Linked DNA regions of Homo sapiens: region 1 is linked to region 2. Evidence: promoter capture Hi-C in 16 types of primary human blood cells and fetal thymus (Javierre and others, 2016). All regions are on one chromosome and are shown on one strand. Each heading gives the region's core, a stretch centred on a gene start or on the middle of the fragment in contact. The rest is flanking DNA. Distances are from core to core; before and after follow the strand shown. Region 1 holds the start of ZNF416 (zinc finger protein 416). Region 2 holds the start of ZNF155 (zinc finger protein 155).

Evidence for each region. Contacts are between HindIII fragments. The CHiCAGO score rates a contact against its expected background, and 5 or more counts as called.
Region 1: the fragment with the promoter of ZNF416 here is called in contact with the fragment with the promoter of ZNF155 in region 2 in 2 of 17 cell types (non-activated CD4 T cells and total CD8 T cells); the score reaches 16.0 in non-activated CD4 T cells.

The regions. Positions count from the first base shown.
Region 1 is chr19:57,575,898-57,580,815 of GRCh38, reverse strand. It overlaps ZNF416 (zinc finger protein 416), which reads left to right and starts at 1,905. Exons shown (of 4, transcript NM_017879.3): 1 at 1,905-2,144; 2 at 2,718-2,759; 3 at 4,886-4,918. The coding sequence starts at 2,112. RefSeq lists a silencer at 1,996-2,215. The HindIII fragment of the contact is 6,514 bases long and covers 1,582-4,918 here.
Region 2 is chr19:43,982,810-43,987,146 of GRCh38, reverse strand. ZNF155 (zinc finger protein 155) reads right to left here and starts at 2,959. Exons shown (of 5, transcript NM_198089.3): 1 at 2,902-2,959. RefSeq lists a silencer at 3,063-3,262. The HindIII fragment of the contact is 8,717 bases long and covers 1-4,337 here.

The DNA of each region.
Region 1 (4,918 bases), core at 656-3,155, about 14 Mb before region 2:
CGGGAGTTCAATTGTTTAAATTTTTAGCTCCCACAAATAAGTGAGAACATGTGAAGTTTGTCTTTCTGTGCCTGGCTTATTTTACTTAACATAATTTCCTCCAATTTCACCCGTCTTCTTGCAATTGATGGGATCTCATTCTTTTTTTATGGCTAAATACTACTCCATTGTGTATATGCATCACATTTTCTTTATCCATTTATCTATGGACAGTTAGGTAGCTTCCAAATCTTGGCTGTTGTGAATAGTGATGCAATAAACATGGGAGTGCAGATCTCTATTAGATATACTGATTTCTTTTCTGGGTGGTGTAAACTGTATCATATGGTAATTCTATTTTTACTTCTGTGGGGAACCTCCAAACTGTTCCCCATAGTGGCTTTACTAATTTACACTCCCACCAACAGCGTATGAAGTTTCCCTTTCCTCTCTGTCCTGGCCAGCATTCATTATTCCCTGTCTTTTGCATAAAAGTCATTTTAACTAGAGTGAGATGATATCTCATTGTAGTTTTGATTTGCATTTTTATAGTGATCAATGATGTTAAGCATGTTTTCATCTACCTGCTTGCCATTTATCTGTCTTTTAAAATTTTTAGTTTTATGAGTACATAGTATGTATGTATATTTATGGGATACGTGAGATATTGTGATACAGGCATACAATGTGTAATAATCATATCAGGGTACACAAGCATTTATCATTTCTTTGTGTTACAAACATTCTAGTTATAATACTCTTTTAGTTGTTTTTAATGTACAATAAATTACTGTTGACTGTAGTCTCTCTACTGTGCTATCAAATACTAGATCTTATTCATTCTACCCTGTCTTAAGGAGGCCTTGGTAGCCATGCTGAGGTTATGGGGTGCTGCTTCCAAAACCAAAAGTATTATGGGCAGCTGGTATGAAGGATCATAGGCTTATGGTCTGTGAGATCCTGTATGTTTAAGAAAGCCCAGTCTTATTGCCAGTAATTACTGTTTTAATGGTGTATAGCATGAGGCTGAAAGAGACAGTTTCCTGCATTGGAAGCTTTTACTCAACAAATGGCCGTTGTATGTGGTTCAGAGATTCCAAGAGGCATGAGAAGTGTAAACCAAAAATAAAATTCCCAGCCCCCCAACCATCTGAATGCATCCTTCCTCTTGGCCAAGGGCATTCCAAAGTTAATCTGAAAAACTAGTTCAGGACGTGATGGGAAGTGAGGGTCAGACTTGCCCTCCTCCCCTTGGAATTCAGGCACAACTGACCAGCATTAACATTAAAACAGAGATTTTAAGACTTCTTGTAGCAATAAGACAGTGAATTCCAGCCTGATTGTAGTATAGCATTACATGACAGATAGCAGGCCCTGAAAGGAATTGAAGTATTTTACTCTAAACTTTATTTATTTGACATATTTTGAAGAGGCCCTGCAAAGGTGTGTCTTGTGGAATCTGCATTTTGCTGAGAATCCCCTTTCCTCTCCAGGGTTTTTTTATTTTCATGGTCCAGGAAAGAATTAAGAGTCTGGCACCTTTCAAAGTCTGATAGGAAACATTTACAATCTATTCCCTCTGAAGCCTGCTGCGTGAAAGCTTCATCTGCTTAATAAGAACCTTGGTCTCTACAACCTCTTATCTTAACCCAGACACTCCCTTCAGTGGGTATGGGACTGCGGAAATCGGCCAGCGGCCCCTTTAAGGAGCAGCAAGTCCCTGTCTCGCTCTTGGTGTCGCGCCTTTTCCTAGCGCCCTCCGCGGGCCGCTTAGCCCTTGTTCCGGGTGAATCTCAGGGAGGGCACCGGAACCCTGGGCTTCTGAGAACTACATTACCCATAATGCCGAGCGCCAAGCTGCAAAGACGCGGAGCCAATCAACGTTCAGGAACGGACCTGTCTCCGTTTGTTGCATACGGTAAGGCGGGACTTCCGGCACCGCTCCGAGATGGTAATTTTGGTGGTTCTCTACCTCGGCCCACGCCGCCTGAGTTAGAAACGCTGCCTCCGGCACAGAGCGGGGGTCGCCCCGCTGCGCATCAGCCGGTGGGTCGCTGGCGCTGGTGGCAGCCGTGCCTGGGTTCCCGCCCCGGGTCGCCCGCCGCTCCCGGCCCCGCTCCGCTCACAATCCGATGGCGGCGGCCGTGCTTAGGGATTCGACTTCGGTGAGTGCTGCGTCTCCCGGGCCTCACCTGCCCTCTCCGCCGGAAATCCAACACCCTGCATGAGGGGCGCCTGCTTGCGTCCCTGCAGCCCGACCCTAGAGTCCAGGACTATGAGGCCCTCGCGGGTGGGGCTCCCATTTACAAGCCTGGTGTCGTGGGCTGTGGAGGGTGTGGCAGGCGGAGGGGCCGGTTTCTGTGAATCTTGCTGGGACGATTGAGCCAGTAACGTTCACGCCCGAATGGTAAAATGAGGCTCTTTCTTTTCAAGACGCTGAGAGCCATGGGTGGTTGTGAACAGACGAGGCACATGGTCTGAGTTAGACTTTTCAAATTTTTTCTAAAGTTACTCAGAGTTGGAACAGCCTGGAAGGGGGATAACACCGAGGCACAGGGAAGTTGAGTCCTTGTGCAAGGTCCCACAGCAGGTAAGAGTCACACGGAACTGAGGAGCAATAATAATTTAGTCATCACCAAGTCACCTGGCTCCAGGGCTGCGCAGGGAAACAAGGAGGCATCAGCCCATGGAGCTTCCACCATAGTTACCTGCCTCTCATAGCCTTCCTCTTCCCGCAGGTTCCCGTGACTGCAGAAGCTAAACTTATGGGCTTTACACAGGTGAGTGGAGAGTGTTTCGGGCCCTCACTGATGCTGACCCCAGTGTTTGTCTCTGAGATTGTGTTCTGGGACTCTTCTCTTGGCACTCTTTGGGTCCTTGGTTCTAGGAATCCTGAACAAACATCAGTCCCAGGGTCATACATCCAGGCTGGAAGCTGGTATAGAATGGTTCCTATTGCTGGGAACCAGTAAAGTAAGGTGTGGAACGTTGTCTCAGGCTTAGATACCAGATGAGCAAGTGCTTGAAGGTCAGGCTGAGCTGGTTTAGGAAACTACAGCTGTTTTCTTTCTCATGGGAACTGAAAGCTGGGATGCAGGAATCAGACAAAAAATGGCTGTCAGTTGTCGGGTGTTTCTTCTGGAGTGTGTGATGAGCAATGACAGTTTGGGGGCAGAGGAGGTATGTGATCTGATCCAGGTCTCATCAGGTTCCCTGTGTGTGGCCAAGCTGAGAGAACAGGCTGAGTGTGAGGTATGAGATAGGAAGATAGTGAAGAAGGCTGCTGCAGTAGTCCAGGTGAGTGTTACTGGTGGCTGGACTTGTGTGGTGGCTGTGGAGGTGGTAGTTGGATTTTAGATCAGTTTTTTTAAGTAGGGAAGCCTGGATTTTGAGATAGAAAAGTAGGATTTAGGGGTAAAAGCAAGGTGTTTGGGTTTAGCAGCTGGAAATATGGAAGCTCCACTAGCGAGGATTGTAAAGTTGGTAGTAGAGTCAGTTATCTCTAGAGATAATCAGAAATTTTGATATGGACCATCTTTATTTTTAAAATTTTTTAATAAAAATCATCTGAACATGGCCCAATGGGACATCTTTTAGAGTCTGAGATGTTTCAAAGAACAGTTAGTTTAGACATGAAGTGGATAGTTTATCCTACAGGACTAGAACTGTGTTGAGGGATTCAGGATAGAGACATTTAAAAGGTGGTGGCCACTACTTGCCTAGGGGTATAGCTTGGGACACAATTAGGAGGTGGAATCGTGATCACTTTGGTAATGCTATTACCAGCCCAGGGAAGGAAGGTTGGGGGTCACTACTGGCTCTCCTGCTTGGGGACATGGTTGGTCATGGTGGGAATCACAAAGACAGGTATGGGAGAGAGGTGGCTATGGTAGGGTGTGAGAGCAAGGATGATCTGGCAAGTGGCCAAGGATCTAGGAGAAGAGTGGGCATGAGATCAATGCTTGGAAGTAATTGAGACAAGATGACACTGAGACCAGAACTAGTGCTTACTCAGCACTCTGGATATATCTACCAGGGTTTTGTGGCAACCCTTGAGGTGTCAGGAATTTCAGGGAGGTGGATAAGTTGAGGGGCACAGGTGGTCATCTGGGAGTTATTGGGCCTGAGGTGTGGGGGTCCCCTGGGGCAGACTTTGAATGAGGGTTAGCAGGAGAGGAAGGCTGTGACTTAAGAGAGGACATCAAGTGCAGCGCTAGTGCAAGAGGGCCATCGGTGTCAGATCCCCAGGTATTTCTGGGTGACTGAGGATGTAGAAAGGGACAGAGTCAGGCAGGGAGGCCTTCAGAGCAGGGTCTCTGAAGGGCTGCCTTTGGCAGTGGGGACCATTCAGCCTGAGTGGCACCGGACCTCATTTCAGTTTGCCAAGCACTTTCTGAATGTTGCATTCCAACTATCGTGGGGATGCCAGAGAGATGCCTATGGTGTGGGGCAACAGGGTGGAAATAGCCGTGGGAGTGAGATTGTTTGAGAGAGTGTGTGCTTCAAAGAGTGATGTGCATATGGAGAGGAAGTGTGAACTGAACAACCCATGGCCATGGCATTGAGGATATAAGAATGATGGCAAACCTCATCATTGTTTGTATGTGAGTGGCATAATTTTGGAAACCCCAGGAGAACTGTCTGACAAGACAAAATCCAGCCCTATATGCTAGACCCAGAGTTTAAAATGGCATTTCCTGGCCCACCTGCCTGTTGGTGCTGTGGGAAGACACAGTGATGATGGGACCATGAGGAGAGGGCAGGAATCAGTGCCACCAGGTCTTGGTATCTCCTCTGAGGTGGGGCTTAGGTATGGGGATAAGCAGGGAAAGGATGTGTGGGGGGCATGAACTTGGGGTCCTAGGAGAGAATCTGATCATGGAAAGATCTATCCCCATCATGGCAGGGCTGTGTGACCTTTGAGGACGTGGCCATTTAC
Region 2 (4,337 bases), core at 1,710-4,209:
ACTATAAGCACAATTAGTAGTTTTTTAAACAGATATCTAATATTTAATAAATATCATTTAATATGATATCTTAATATTGTCTAGCATGTTACGTGAGACCCTATAACCTGCCCTTTCTAAACACCTCTTACCAAGTCACCCCATGATCACCATGGAATGTGGGCTTCCTTGCTGCAGAAATCTACAATCGTCTCTGGTTACAGATATGTTCCTGGTAGTATTTGGCTGATGGCCACCAACAAAGCAAACAGGAAAAATGTAAACAATCGGCAAATTTGGGTAAAGAGTATATGAGAATTCCTTATACTATTTTTGCAACTCTTCTACAGCTTTGAAATGATATAAAAATGAAAGGTTTTCAACTATCAGGAAATAGTCATAAGGATGATAACAATGGGGGCTGGGCGCCGTGGCTCACACCTGTAATCTCAGCACTTTGGGAGGCCGAGGTGGGCGGATCACAAGGTCAGGAGATCGAGACCATCCTGGCTAACACAGTGAAACCTCGTCTCTACTAAATATACAAAAAAATAGCCGGGCATGGTGGCCGGCACCTGTAGTCCCAGCTACTCAGGAGGCTGGGGCAGGAGAATGGTGTGAACCCGGGAGGCGGAGCTCACAGTGAGCCGAGATCGCACCACTGCACTCCAGCCTAGGTGACAGAGCGAGACTCCGTCTAAAAAAAAAAAAAAAAAAACACAAATGGGAATAATATTGGATGAGCATGACATAATATGGCAGTTTACTAGTTTATTCTCTATTAGCAGTATTTAAAAATTTCCATAGTTAAAGAAATATGGGAAAACACATTAAGATATTATAACAATTTTTTTAAATGCTTATAAATAAATATACAATAGACACAGAGAAAGACTAAAAAGAAACGGAGGAGAACTGGAAGTTCCATCTCTTGTATCAGACAGTTAGCACCTTCACATCTTGGATTCATGGGTAATTTAAAACATGTTTTCTCCTCCTATTAATCTAATTTTAAAATGCTCCACAATGATATGGTTCCACAATACAAAATCCTTATAAAAAGTGAAACAGGATGTTGACAAATTTTTAAAAGACTCCTACAGAAGTCCAAGTCTATGAGCCTTGCTCTCAAGGTCCCTTCAATCAAGTCCTAACTCTCTTTCCCCACCTGATTCCAGCTAGTTCCTCTACCTCAATGAAAATGTATCCAAGGGATGATCAACTCAGGCTCTGACCCAAACTGCCTAGGTTCCAGCTCCAGCTGTACCTCATTCTACTGGGAACTAAGCACCAGGTGTCTCACTCCCATATTTAAAATGGAAAAGAGCGACCGGGCGCGGTGGCTCACGCCTGTAATCCCAGCATTTTCGGAGGCCAAGGCGGTCGGATCACGAGGTCAGGAGTTTCAGACCAGCCTGACCAAAACGGTGAAACCCCATCTTTACTAAAAATACAAAAATTAGCTGGGCGTGGTGGTGCGCACCTGTAATCCCAGCTACTTAGGAGGCTGAAGCAGGAGAATCGCCTGAACCTGGGAGGCGGCCTATTGCACTGAGCCCAGATCGCGCCACTGCACTCTAGCCTGGGCGACAGAGCGAGACTCCGTCTCAGGAAAAAAAAAAAAAAAAAAAAAAGAAAAAGAGCAATACCTTTCCACAGAGCCATGGTGTGGCGTAAATGTATTTATTTCCATAAAGCCCTTAGAATTAAGTTACCAATTAAGGTTTAATTATTATCAACACCCATGCCCAAGGACACATCCTATACACTCTTGGTTGAGGTGAACATCTCTGTAAAAGAAAAAACCGGCCCGGCGCGGTGGCTCACACCTGTAATTCCAGCACTTTGGGAGGCCGAGGCAGGCGGATCACTTAGGACCACAGGTTCGAGACCAGCCTGGCCAACATGGTGAAACCCCGTCTCTACTAAAAATACAAAAATTAGCCGGGCATGGTGACGCATGCCTGTAATCCCAGCTACTCCGGAGCTGAGGACAGAGAATCGCTTGAACCCAGGAGGCGGAGGTTGCAGTGAGCCAAGATCGCGCCACTGCTGCACTCCAGCCTGGGAGACAGAGCAAACCTCATTCTCAAATAATAACAATAATAAAAACAGACTAACAAAATAAATAACTTTTTTTTAAAAAGAGAAAAGCCAAAGACCACTCGTGTAGACAGCTTTGTCCTCAGTAGCCAAGTCCCTCCCTGCAGCTCTTTTAGAAAAGTCAGGCTGGGGAAGGAGAAAGCTGTCAAACACTCTGCGTCGCCGTCCCGGATACAAGTTAAATGCTCCTCTCCCTTCGTGAAACGTGGATGCAACCCACGCCTTCCTAAAAAGAGGTCAGAGGCGTCCGGGATCATCCAGAGCCCTGCCGGGCTCCAAGAGAAGGGCCGGAGCAGCTGGAGCTCTGACCCCACCCGGGCACCTGACCACTTCGCGGGAAATTAACAGGACACCAAGTGACAGGAGCTGTTAAGTCTTTGTTTTATACCACAACTTTCAACTCCTAAAACAATTCTATCAGGATGGTCCTGAAATCCTCATTTAAAAAACGGCAATGGGAGGTACAGGGAGATTAAGTAACACCCCACGTTATATCGCGAGAAAGAGGTCGCACACTTAAGAGTGGAGGGAGGCGGACTGAACGAGGTCAAACACCTGGAAAACCCTCTAAACAGGCACACAAGACTAGACAGAGTTCTTCCCCGCCCCCCCCGAACCCCCGACGACTCCTCCGGTGGACCTGAGTACAGCCCCCAACGCCAGAAGGCTCCATCGACGGCAACGAAACTTCCCTCCCACCCCTCGCATCTCCAAACCTCAGGTCTTCTCCAGGGCTTCTTACCCCCTTAGTTGACCCCCCAGGTCGTTAGGCGCCCCTAATAACTGGTTCACTTTCGCAAAGACCCGCAAGACACATACTTGGCTCAAACCACCTTGTTAAGTAGCAGTGTCCTGCTCGGAGACCGGAAGTGTCGATGATGCCACAGGCGTCTGGACTACACTTCCCAGAATCCCCCGAATCCGCCTGCCTGAGCCAAAGTTCCCACGACTCCACAGAGCAAATGGACTCCACTTCCCAGAATTCACAGGTCCTCCTGCCTGGGCCAAAATTCCCACGCCTCCCAAGCTACTCGCGAAACGCCTGCGGGAGCCAAATTTCCTGCGCATCGACCGGGCAATTAGACTCCCGCAGGCGTTTCGCTGGTATCTTGGGAAATGGAGTCCATTTGCTCTGTGGAGGCGTGAGAATTTTGGCTCAGGCAGGTGGACCTGTGAATTCTGGCCTATCAACCTATATTTTTATTTTAAAAAAATGGAGTCTCATGTTCTATATCAATTTTTCTAAACTAAAAAAGAATACTTTTCATGGTTTTCTTTAGATAAAGTGACTGTGCCAACCACAGTATGAGGAACACTTCTCTGAAAATTGAGTGACTGCTATTTCTAAACCAGTTACAGCTGTATCCTTGCTCTGTTCTGCCCTCCCAAGAGATAAAAATTTATTGACACGCTCAATCGTAGTAGGCAGGAAACTGTGCCTAATATATTAGGGTATATCTGGCATCAAAGGCCCTTTCTGTCCCCCAGGTCCTTGCACTCTGGGCCTGTGATGGGAGGAGAAGCTGCCATAATCTGTGAAATGCCTTTGGGGTCATTCTTCCATTGTCTTGGACAATAGGTCCTGGCTTCAGTTGACATGGCCAATCCATACTAAATTCATGAATTAGTTAGTTGCTTAACCATACCCTTGTATTCTTCAGGTTTCCTGTTTTTTTTTTTTTCCAAAGTAGATAGGCTGTAAACTTTTAAAAATTTTAGTTCTGTTTCCCTTTTAATTAATAATTATTTCAGTCATTCCTCACTTCGTGCCTTTCACTACGGGTAGTCAAGATGATTCAAGCAACTTCAACACTTTGATTAGAAATTAATTCAGATAAACAATTATATCATTCACAAATTCTACCTTCCATAAAACACTAGCACCTGAATATAATTCAGCCAAATTCTTTGTCCCTTTATAACAAGAAGCTCTCTTCTCTTCCAATAACATGTTCAACATTTCTGACTGAGGTCTTCAGAATGGCCTTTACTGTCCATATTTCTACCAACATTCTGATCATGACTACCTAGGTATGCTCTAACAAGATTGATGTTTTCTCTACAGTTCTTATTCTCTATTTCTGAGCGCTAACCAGAATTGTCCTTATCAGTCCATTCATGGCAATGTAGGCTTTTCCTAGCATACATGTAAAAACTCTTCTAGACTCTATCCATTACATAGTTCCAAAGACTGCTACATTTTTAGGTATTTGTTGCAGCAGCAAGCCCACCTCTCAGTACCAATATTTTTTAGT